Linked DNA regions of Homo sapiens: all the other regions are linked to region 3. The links are contacts of gene promoters, found by promoter capture Hi-C in blood cells and fetal thymus (Javierre and others, 2016). All regions are on one chromosome and are shown on one strand. Each heading gives the region's core, a stretch centred on a gene start or on the middle of the fragment in contact. The rest is flanking DNA. Distances are from core to core; before and after follow the strand shown. Region 1 has its middle 25 kb from the start of BHLHE41. Region 2 has its middle 32 kb from the start of BHLHE41. Region 3 holds the start of ITPR2-AS2 (ITPR2 antisense RNA 2).

Evidence for each region. The method cuts DNA at HindIII sites, captures the fragments that hold promoters and counts their contacts. A CHiCAGO score of 5 or more calls a contact.
Region 1: a fragment that was not itself captured here is called in contact with the fragment with the promoter of ITPR2-AS2 in region 3 in 1 of 17 cell types (M2 macrophages); the score reaches 5.3 in M2 macrophages.
Region 2: a fragment that was not itself captured here is called in contact with the fragment with the promoter of ITPR2-AS2 in region 3 in 2 of 17 cell types (M2 macrophages and M1 macrophages); the score reaches 7.2 in M2 macrophages.

Annotation. Positions count from the first base shown.
Region 1 is chr12:26,148,669-26,151,767 of GRCh38, reverse strand. It overlaps a transcript of SSPN not described here. Among named protein-coding and RNA genes, the nearest start is that of BHLHE41, 25 kb to the right of the region's middle. The HindIII fragment of the contact is 2,754 bases long and covers 302-3,055 here.
Region 2 is chr12:26,091,019-26,094,426 of GRCh38, reverse strand. No RefSeq gene overlaps it. Among named protein-coding and RNA genes, the nearest start is that of BHLHE41, 32 kb to the left of the region's middle. The HindIII fragment of the contact is 2,758 bases long and covers 456-3,213 here.
Region 3 is chr12:26,316,818-26,320,213 of GRCh38, reverse strand. It overlaps ITPR2-AS2 (ITPR2 antisense RNA 2), which reads right to left and starts at 1,290. Exons shown (of 6, transcript NR_199072.1): 1 at 1,210-1,290. RefSeq lists an enhancer at 1,548-1,597. The HindIII fragment of the contact is 7,262 bases long and covers 1-1,745 here.

The sequences.
Region 1 (3,099 bases), core at 429-2,928, 170 kb after region 3:
TGTGTTAGTAAATTCTGCAGCCCTGTTACAAAAAATTTGTACTAGATCCTCCTGGACCACGGTAACCTTTATGCATGCTGAGGGTCAGGTCTTGTCATGCATAGGTAAATTAGATCCTCTGCATGAGCTAAACTGCAAGCTCCATGGGGGCAGGGAGCTTTGTCTGTTTGTTCACTGATTTACTCCCAAGAACTCTGAATAGTGCCTGACACACACTAGGTATTTAGTGTTGAATGAATAAATGATTTGTTTTTCATTGCAATAGCAAAAAATGTATGTGAAAGGGTGCCTCAGAAAAGCTTAGGACCCAATTGAGGATTTTAAGGGGGCAGTTGTGCTGGGTAACAGCAAGAGAAAAATAACACAATGCATGTGATTTTTTTTTTATGGTTGAGAAGAGATCTAAATAGGGAAATAATGCCAGTTCTAATCTAAATATTTTGGAATGAACTGTAACTTCCTTCAGTTTCTCTCTAGCCTCTCCAAAAGGATTTAGCAATGTTTGGTGGTTTTGCCTGGGTATTTTAACAAAAGCTGATCTCATGCTGGCATTATAGCACAATTTTTTTTTTCCAAGAAAACCTGCTCAAAAGACTAACAGGGCACTCAAGAGTTCTCTGAGAGAAGGAACAGTCATAGAAATATTAAAATATAGACTTGCCCCTTTTTTTCCCTAAGTTCCACCCGAAAATCCCACCAAAATGTGCCATTCCAGTGTCTGAAAAGCAATGCAGAAGAATTTCTGTATCTCAAAAAATTCTGGAAATGATTGTTACAGCAAGTCATTTCTCAACCACTGTTCACACTGGCCGATGAATAGCATTCTTGAGTTCTCCAGTGAGCAGAGCCAAACAAGTGACTTCAGACTTCAAAATCCCAGGAGTGATTCTGGCCTGGCTCTGACTTTCCCAGAGGCAAAATTATCCTCCTGCAGAATACATCACAAATCCCAGTAAGGACTGTCCCTTTCCAGGTCTTAAGAGAGGGCTAAAAAAATCAAAAGCCTTATGCCTCCTTCCAAAATCCACTAGCACTCACAGCATTTGGCTTTATGCTGGTTTATGACAAAATATTCTCAACTGTGGGGTCTCAAAGGTTTCCCTTAAAATATTTTTTAGTAAGTGAATACATTATAATGATGCAGATGACTCCCCAAATTAAAAATGTACAAGGATTTGCACAAAAAATTTTAAAATGCTTTTCATTTGGCTTCTGTTTTAAAAGCATACTTGTAAATGAGCTCTTTTTGAAGGATATATAAATTGTATGTACAGGACAAAGAAACAATGTAGTCATTCCAGGGAAAATAAAATCATTAGCTTAAATGAAAAAAATAATTAAACCAGTTTATAGCATCAGTCTGTGAAACTCTAACTGGGTAAGAGACTGAAATGTGAGGATGCCATACTTGGGAGGGCATCGCATACACATTAGCGAAACCTTTTACTGAACTTTGCTCTCAGTGTCAAAATACCCAGCTGTGTGATGGTGCTACCAGGTTTTGTGGAAAGCCTGATGTGTGAGACCTGGGAGGCAAAATAAAGCACCCCCAAGCTGCTCCGGAGTCAAACCCATTTCTGCTTTCTCCAAAGTGCTTCCTTTCTTGTGGCTAATGTCGGCTTGGCCTTGAGCACTTCCTGACACAATCAACAAGAAGCTATAAACCATGGGTGCCCTAGGTTAGGATGGTGTTCAGTCGGCCAGAAACATCTGCAAGTTTGAGACAGTACCCCATATAGCAAAGTTATGTGCCCATGTTTCTTCCTACCTTTCAGAAGATGTGAGGAAGTATTGACCTTGCGAGTATATGTGTACATGTACAAAAGGATTTAAATTCTAGAACCTCTCCTTAAAAATTTCAGGTGCATCATGGTTCACTTAAAGGCTCTAAAAAATTAAAATTAAAAAAAAAATTTCAGGTGCAGTATGTGTGGATGTGTGTATGCACATGTGTGCTAATCTACATATGTTAACTGTATAATAAAAGGTGTAGTGATTGAGTAATGGGTTTTCCCATTATTTGGCTAACAAAAATTACAGCACATGCTCCATGCAGACTATTTCCAAGGTATTATTATTGTTTTCATTGCTGTTGTGGATAGCAGGCAACAGGTACTGAGTACAAATTATGCACCAGACATGTACATTTATTTCTTGTTCAACTCTCACAAGAAATCTATAAGCTGGATATGATTATTGATAAGAGAAAGATGGGTAGAATGAAGCTGAGAAAGGTGAAGTCACTTGCCACAGGGGAGCACTAGGGAAAGGGGAAGCTGGGCTTCAAGTCTGGCATTTGGCTGCTCTGAAGCTGATTTTTTGCCCCCAAATAAAGTGAGCTAAATATGGAAATCATTAGGGACAGAATTTGACCTTTCTTTGATAATTTTAAAAATAATTCTTGCTCTCACAGTGCCCCTAAATCACCAGTATGGTAGATGTATACAAATACAAGGAATTGTAGATGTATACAAATACAAGGTAGATGTATACAAATACAAGGAATTAAGCATTTCTAATCCCAAGAGTTATAGACAAGTAGACTTTTATTGAATGTTTACAAACGCAGCAACACAAGCAAAAAGCCATAGTGATGTTGAGTTGGAATATAGAAACTTCATCAAATCTATTGCATCAGGTAAAGGGAGTAAGCTCTGTATTCACCAATTTACAGTAAGTGCTTCTCCACATAAGATAAATGTTCCAGAAGAAAAATCTACCATTACTTTAAAATCCAAGATGGCTTGAAGTTTTTCAAGTTGAAAACCTTAAACAGGAATAATGTGTGATGGAGAACAAAGAGAATTTCTGATTTTAAAAAATCCAGGCATTTGTGTGTGTGCCGTGGGGAGGTTGGGGGAGGCACCTAGCACATCTGAGAGTGTGATAATACAGATGAGATCAGTAATTGGGCTAGATTAGCCAGTCAGGATGGGTCAGATGCAGCATTTTGTCCACTGTAATTCTCGTAACATCTTCATTTATTTTCAAGACATTTCTGAATGGAAATGTCACCTAGAAGCACAACTGAGAGAATTTCATCATAAAGCAAGCTTTTTTAAAAAGAAAAATGCACCATGTTACAGTCTTTAGAGTTCA
Region 2 (3,408 bases), core at 585-3,084, 230 kb after region 3:
TGGCAGCTGTTCCTTCTCTGAATGATCAATCCATCTGTTTCTACCAGATCTCTCTTCTTCATTTCTTCATTTGCTGCCTCAGACCTGCTAATGAAATCTGCAAATGAAATATGCATCTTTGTGGTTATCATTTCTGGAGCTCTTTATTCCTTTGTGTAGATACATATTTCTAAGTGATATCATTTTCTTCCTGCCTGAAGAAATTTCTTTAACATTTCTTATAGTTCAGGTCTGTGGTGAATTCATTCAACTTTATTTCACCATGGTTTTTGAAAGATAATGATGATCTTCACAGCCAGATATGAGATTCATTTTTGAATGCATGTGCCCATTTTAATGAAGTGAGTTTTCTTTCCACTGATTTTGTGGCCTCAAACAGTTAGTAGTCAGTCTCCCACTATGGATCTAAAACAGACATGGCTGGGCATGTAAATACATTTTCCTTTGATGAAGCTTTAGTAGATTTTGCTTCATTCCTACTGGTCCTTATAAAGAAATAAAATTCTACCTCTTAACAACTATTAAAAGCACTATATAATTGGACTATAATCCCAAACCACAGATGTGTTAGAGTTAGAAAGCATCCTGGAATTGTGTGGCCCAATCCCTGCCCACCTCTGCACATGCAGCTTACATGAAGCTGAGATAATCATGTTAAGAATTAAGTTCATTTGCCACATGTACATAACAGAAGACACATTTTATGTACAAAGGTCATGTTCTTTGCCTTAGGTTATTTGTTCATATCAGTGAATATAGATTCAGTGTTTTGGGATAGAGAAGGCATAAAAAGGAGGGAGCTGCTCATTAACTTATTTTTTATTTTTACTTATTTTTATTTATTTTTTGAGACAGGGTCTCACTCTTGTCACCCAGACTGGAGTGCAGTGGTGCAATCTCTGCTCACTGCAACCTCTGCCTCCCGGGTTCCAGCAATTCTCCTGCCTCAGCCTCCCAAGTAGCTGAGATTACAGATGCACGCCGCCACGCCAGTCTAATCTTTTGTATTTTAGTACAGACGGGATTTCACCATGTTGCCCAGGCAGGTCTAGAACTCCTGAGCTCAGGCAATCCATCTGCCTCGGCCTCCCAAGGTGCTGGGATTACAGGTGTGAGACACCGTGCCTGGCTGCACATCAACTTCTACAGGAACATGTCCCCTTAGCCTTAGTTGACAAGGTCAAGGGTTTGTCTGTCTTTGTAATCATAGCAACTAGCAGAATTTCCAACACACAGTAAGTACTCAATAAATGTTTTCATTGTTAGATGATGAATAGCATTAACTATTATCCCTGTTAAGAGACTAATGCTGAATTTGAAAAAAAAAATCTACAGAGTGAAAACACTGTTTATATAAGTTATAAATAATTTGGGAAGGGGACAGTGAAAAAACTCCTTTTCTGAAATTTAAAAATAGAACCATAATAACTATGTCATTGTCTTTCATGAGCGATCTCTATGTAAAAGCATTGATCTCTGTGTAGGAGAATAAAGCAAATACAACAGAGCCATCCATGTGACCATCAAAAACCACAAAAGACATGGTAGGAAATACCCCTGACGTGTAAGACTCCTTCAAAAAAAAAAAAAAAAAAAAAAAAAGCAGTGTATCTTCTGGGCCTGTTTCAGAAAAAAAGAAAAAGAAAATACACATTAAAAAAAAAAAAAGGCAGTAAATACTAACCGGGAGGGGTGACCTAGGAGTAAGCATGAAGTGATACTATTCAGAACTGGAAGAAATTTTAGGTATCATCATGGCCAGCCTCTTTATTTTACAGATCATGCTAATTTTCTGCTACTTATTGTGTGGCCTTGAAAAATCATGTCATGAGCAGGCTAGCTGAAAACATAGAAAGAGCTGTGGGGAAAATAAACCAGGTTGTAGCCTAATTTCTGCTGCAGTAAGTAGCTACAATAAGTAGCAGAAAATTAGGCCTACAATCTGGTTTATTTTCCTCACAGCTCTTTCTATGCTTTCATCTAGCCTGCTCCAAATGTTTTCTTTTCAATACGGGGGATCAAATAAACATACAGACTTGGGATGAAGATCTAGAACAAAAGAAAAACAAGAAGGTAACTAATTATGTATACCAATAATTTTTCTTAAAGTAAATTAAAATCAGAATATTAATATTCCTATCAGAACTTCCCCCCCAAATTTGACAGTCTCCCAAGCACCAGAGTTTCTTAGTAGAGAGAGACTTTTTTTTAGTGATAGTTAGTGGCATGAAAACAAATCCTAAACTTTAAACAGATGGGAATTTTGGGGCTAATGACAGCTAATATTAACAGTGTCGCAAGATCAGGTTCTGATTTTGTAAAGATTGAAAGAGCATAACTTCAGGTAGCTCTCGATACAGTAGAGCCAAATCGGAGTCCTCCTGCAGAGGGCATAGGATGACCAGGCGCTGAGGAGAGCCCACACTGCGGTGCAGTGTGTAATCCTGGGAGAGACCCTCTTTAATCCTGCTCTGTTAGAAAACTGGAGAATGCCATAGCAGTTTGAGCAGAAGGAATGATTTTCTCCACACGGGCAAACTTTCCAGCTCTTTCTACAGTCTCTGCACTGCAAGCTGGTTTAGAGAATGTTGAGCTTTTTCTAAATAAATGGTAAATGGAGGTTGAGGAAACACTATTGGGAATGCATTTTCTCTGAGTTATGATGAACAGAACAAATCAGGAAAAGAATCATTACGAAGTACTTTGAGCCACTCAGTCTTTGAGAATTTGCTTTGATGACATTGTAAGGTGAAGAAAGGCAGCTAAGCTAATTTTTGTTTGGACAAAAAAATGTGTTTATTCTGTTTATCTTAAATGAGAGATATTATGCTTTATGGATTTTTGAAAAAAAATTAAATAAGAAGGAGCTGTGGCCATGGAAGAGAGATGGAGGTAAGCAGATGCAGCAGATGGAGTGTGCGTGTTGAGGAATGTAGCTCCAGGCAAGAGAGAGGAAATGGAGGCAAAGGACACCTGGGCTTTGGAAATGGACCTGCAGCTTCACATGGGCGGATCAAAGGCTGGCCACAGGTTACGTAGCCCAAGTATCTGGGACAGAGATGGAATTGCTGCCTTAGGAATGAGAAGTGATTCTGAATTGAGTCCACTGGAGAAATACACATACCACATATCTCCAGCATGAGTGTTCATGCGCTGGAATCCATGGTATGCATGAAAGTAGATGACAGGTGAGAAGTCATAGTTCTGAAAGCTTCAATACCTCATTCCCCAAATGGGAAAAGGCCATGGAGCCGTATGTTAAGACCTTCTGCAAATAGGCAGTCTTCTTCCAAGTAGATCCGAGTGCATACTCATGAAGCGTATACTAAGCACTGGCGAACAAACAGAGGAAGGACATGTTAGAAGGGACCAGGTCACATCAGTGTGTCCTTGTCTCTATTCCTGCTT
Region 3 (3,396 bases), core at 41-2,540:
TACCAATTTGCTCTGATTGTCTCATAAAGCACCATTTTCCTTCCCCATATATTATGGAGCAGATGGCTCTCTTCTCAAAGGAAGCTGTGCCATTTTAAAACTTTTCTTCCCATGCAGGATGAGCCACTGGCTAAAATGGTGAGATCACCACCCATCCAGCCATGCTATTATAACCCAGGACACTCATGTAGGATTGAGGCCTGGAAAGTTAACTGCATGATTCCCAGGTGTTAGGGCTACTTACCAAGAATGCCTGCTTAACTTTGAAAGGAAGGTTTCCCTGGGAACATACATCCTGGTGAACAGGATCAGGTGTTGCTTAATAGATATTATGTAGATACAGAGTAAATGTCAGGCTTACATAGAGGAGTTGGCTGCTGAGGCAAATTTGTTCTTCAGCCTTGGCCAGCAACCCAGAATTTAAGGGAGGAGTCAAGGCCGGAAGCCACGTGCATTGAGGATCTAGGAAACCACCCACAGAGTCATCCTTCTTCCAGACTCAGCCTCCTCAGACAAAAAATCCCACTCTGTTCCCAGGCCGGAGAGCCTCCTGGGCTGGAATTGCTCAAGCCTCAGCTCACAGATGAGTCACTGTATTCATTTGCTCCACAGGTAGGCGTGTAGTTTGGCCCCATATGCAACAGACAGGCCAAGTTAACAGCAACTCGGGGAATTTCAAAATTGATTTTTATGGCAAAAAGAACACATGACCATTGTGATAGAAAATATTGGAACATACAGGCAAGCACCATAAATTTTAAAAAGAGCTGATAATCCCCAAACGCAGAGATTAAACATCATTAATAATTTCTTGTCTCACCTTCCAGGCTTTTGTCTATCCACCTGGGAGTACATATAGTGTAAAACAAATTGGATTATTCTAACAATGTTGTTTTACGGTCCTTCTCTATATACTATCCTACGGTGGACATTTTCCCAGGTCATTGATTATTCTGTTCTAGTGATTTTTTAATGGCCATACAACCTTCCAAAATAAAAATGTACCATAGTTTGTTGTACAATGCTTTACAGTTGAACATTTAGATAATTTTCAGTTTTTCGTTACTAAAGTTAACACTATGATGAGCATGATTGAACATACATATTTGTGTACGCCTCTGATTCCTGACTAAGAATAAATTCATTCAAATGAAATCATGCAACCAAAACATATGAGTATTTTCAAGGCTTAAAAAAGGTTTTACTTACTTATACTCCTACACTTGCGGCATGAAACAGGCCCTTTCCCAAAGGTGGCTTTTAGGTAAGGCTGCTTTGGTGGCCCAGACTAGGGTCCCCCTGCCTCTGATAGAGCTAAACTGTGCCGCAGGAAGCTGCCCCAGGGCAGCTGTGTGCAGAAGGCTGTTTTTGCCCCTTGGGGCCTTCCGGCTGCATTTTCTCATCTCTACAGCCGGGCCAGCTGAAGCATGTGGAGGTCAGGTGATGTGTGTGGGGTCATGCAGCCAGTGGTGACTCAGCCAAACCCACTCCAGCTCCTGAACCTTGCTCAGATCACAAGGCTGAGAGCACTCGCTTTCCCTGCAGCCCACAGTTTCCAAATAATTAAAAGAGGCTCCTTGTGCTTGAGTTTGTAGATATTAAGTTTTTGGAATGAGTGGTTCAGCCCCATGACCTTGTTAATTGGTGACACTAAATGCTGTATAATCCTGCCTTCCTTTTTCTTTCTGGAAACAATCAGAATAATTTGTTGAGCTTCCCTGCACTGTATAATTTGCAATGAAGCTTTGTGATGAGTCTATTCAGGTGCCCATCTGAGACTCAGATTCAAAGACATAACTGCTGAGCTGAATCAAAACAACAACTCTGGTACATCTGATTCATTATGACTCATGCATCAAACTCAAGCTGCCTATTAAGGTACTAGAACACTCTCACCAACATAAGAAAACCCCTGATGACAAAGATTGGCCAACTCTTGGGGATTATTGTCTCCTTCATCCATAATTCAGTAAGCCAAATTAAATTCAGGTGACCAATAGTTAAGTCAACCTAACAAGACTGTCTCTTCTCAGGTGGCTGGGCCAGCATGGGGGATGACTGCAGCTATTCCACAGGGAGTCTTTGCTTCCAGTGGTTTACTATCCCTGTATTACTCTCTGGAATGGAGCCTGTGAGCTCAAGGTCCTCTGTGGACATCATACTTTGTTCTGATTCTTAGCCATACACAGTGGGAGTTGAATCCCAGATGTCCTCTTATGGCCCAGCACCATTTGCACAGGGTTAAGAGAAAATGGAAGAGCATCAACCCATCCCCTCAGCTGGGAAATGACTCCTGACTCTTTTGCCAGGAGAATATATCAGTTACATCCTCTTTTGGGCATTCAGAGATGAGCCTAATATGTAAAAATTAAAGTAAACAGGCTGAAGAGACACCTACTTGTAGTATAGCTGCTGTATTATTTATCTGCATATATAAATGCACAGGCACGTAACCTAGCTGATTCTAAACTGCGTAGGTGAGTGTTTGCAGAACTAGGGGCTAGGAAGTTTTCTCAGTACCTATTTGCATGAGGCTGTGTTTCAGGAAGGCTTTTGGTTGTTAGCTGAAGGATGATGATGGAATTTAATGAGGAGTCCTTGGGACAGAGACTGAAATGGCGGGATGGCCTGGTATTTGGTTCCTATCAGGATATTGAGGGTGATTTGAGCTAGGAGGAATAAGGGATGACAGCCATGTCCTGGGCTTCGGCACTGCTCTGACACTCTGAAGGTCAGCAGAGTTGAAAGCCTTGCAGGTGAGCTGTTGGCATGGATGCCGGCGATGCTCGTGATAGGTTCTGCCAGTCATGGCAGGACTGAGGCTCCTTCAGAAGGTGTTGTGAGTAGAGGATGCTGAGGAGGGAGAGGGGGAGAAAGAGAAAGAATAAGGCAAATTCCACATGTGATTATATCTAATAGTCTGACTTATGAGTTCCTGTGGGAGAACTTAGAGGAAGTCCAGAAATACTTGGGGAGGCCTTACAGGGGTCTGCAGGGCAGGTTAGGCTAGAGCAGGAAACTCAGTTGTAAATGCTAATGCATCCATCACACCAAAGGCCCCTGTTTTTATACATCAGTCTTTTATTTCTTGGCATTTAGGTAATGGCTGGATTATTTGTTGTTGTTTTTGAGACAGGGTCTCACTCTGTTGCCCAGGATGGAGTACAGTGGCATGATCTCAGCTCACTGAAATCTTGACCTCCCAGGCTCAAGCAATTCTCGCACCTCAGCCTCCCAAGTAGCTAGGACTATAGGTGCACTACTGCCCCCAGCAAATTTTTGTATTTTCAGTAGAGATGGAGTTTCACTATGTTGCCCAGTCTGGTCTCAAACTCCTGACCTCAAGCAATCCACCGGCCTCAGCCTCCCAGAGTGTTGGGATTACAGGCAGGAGCC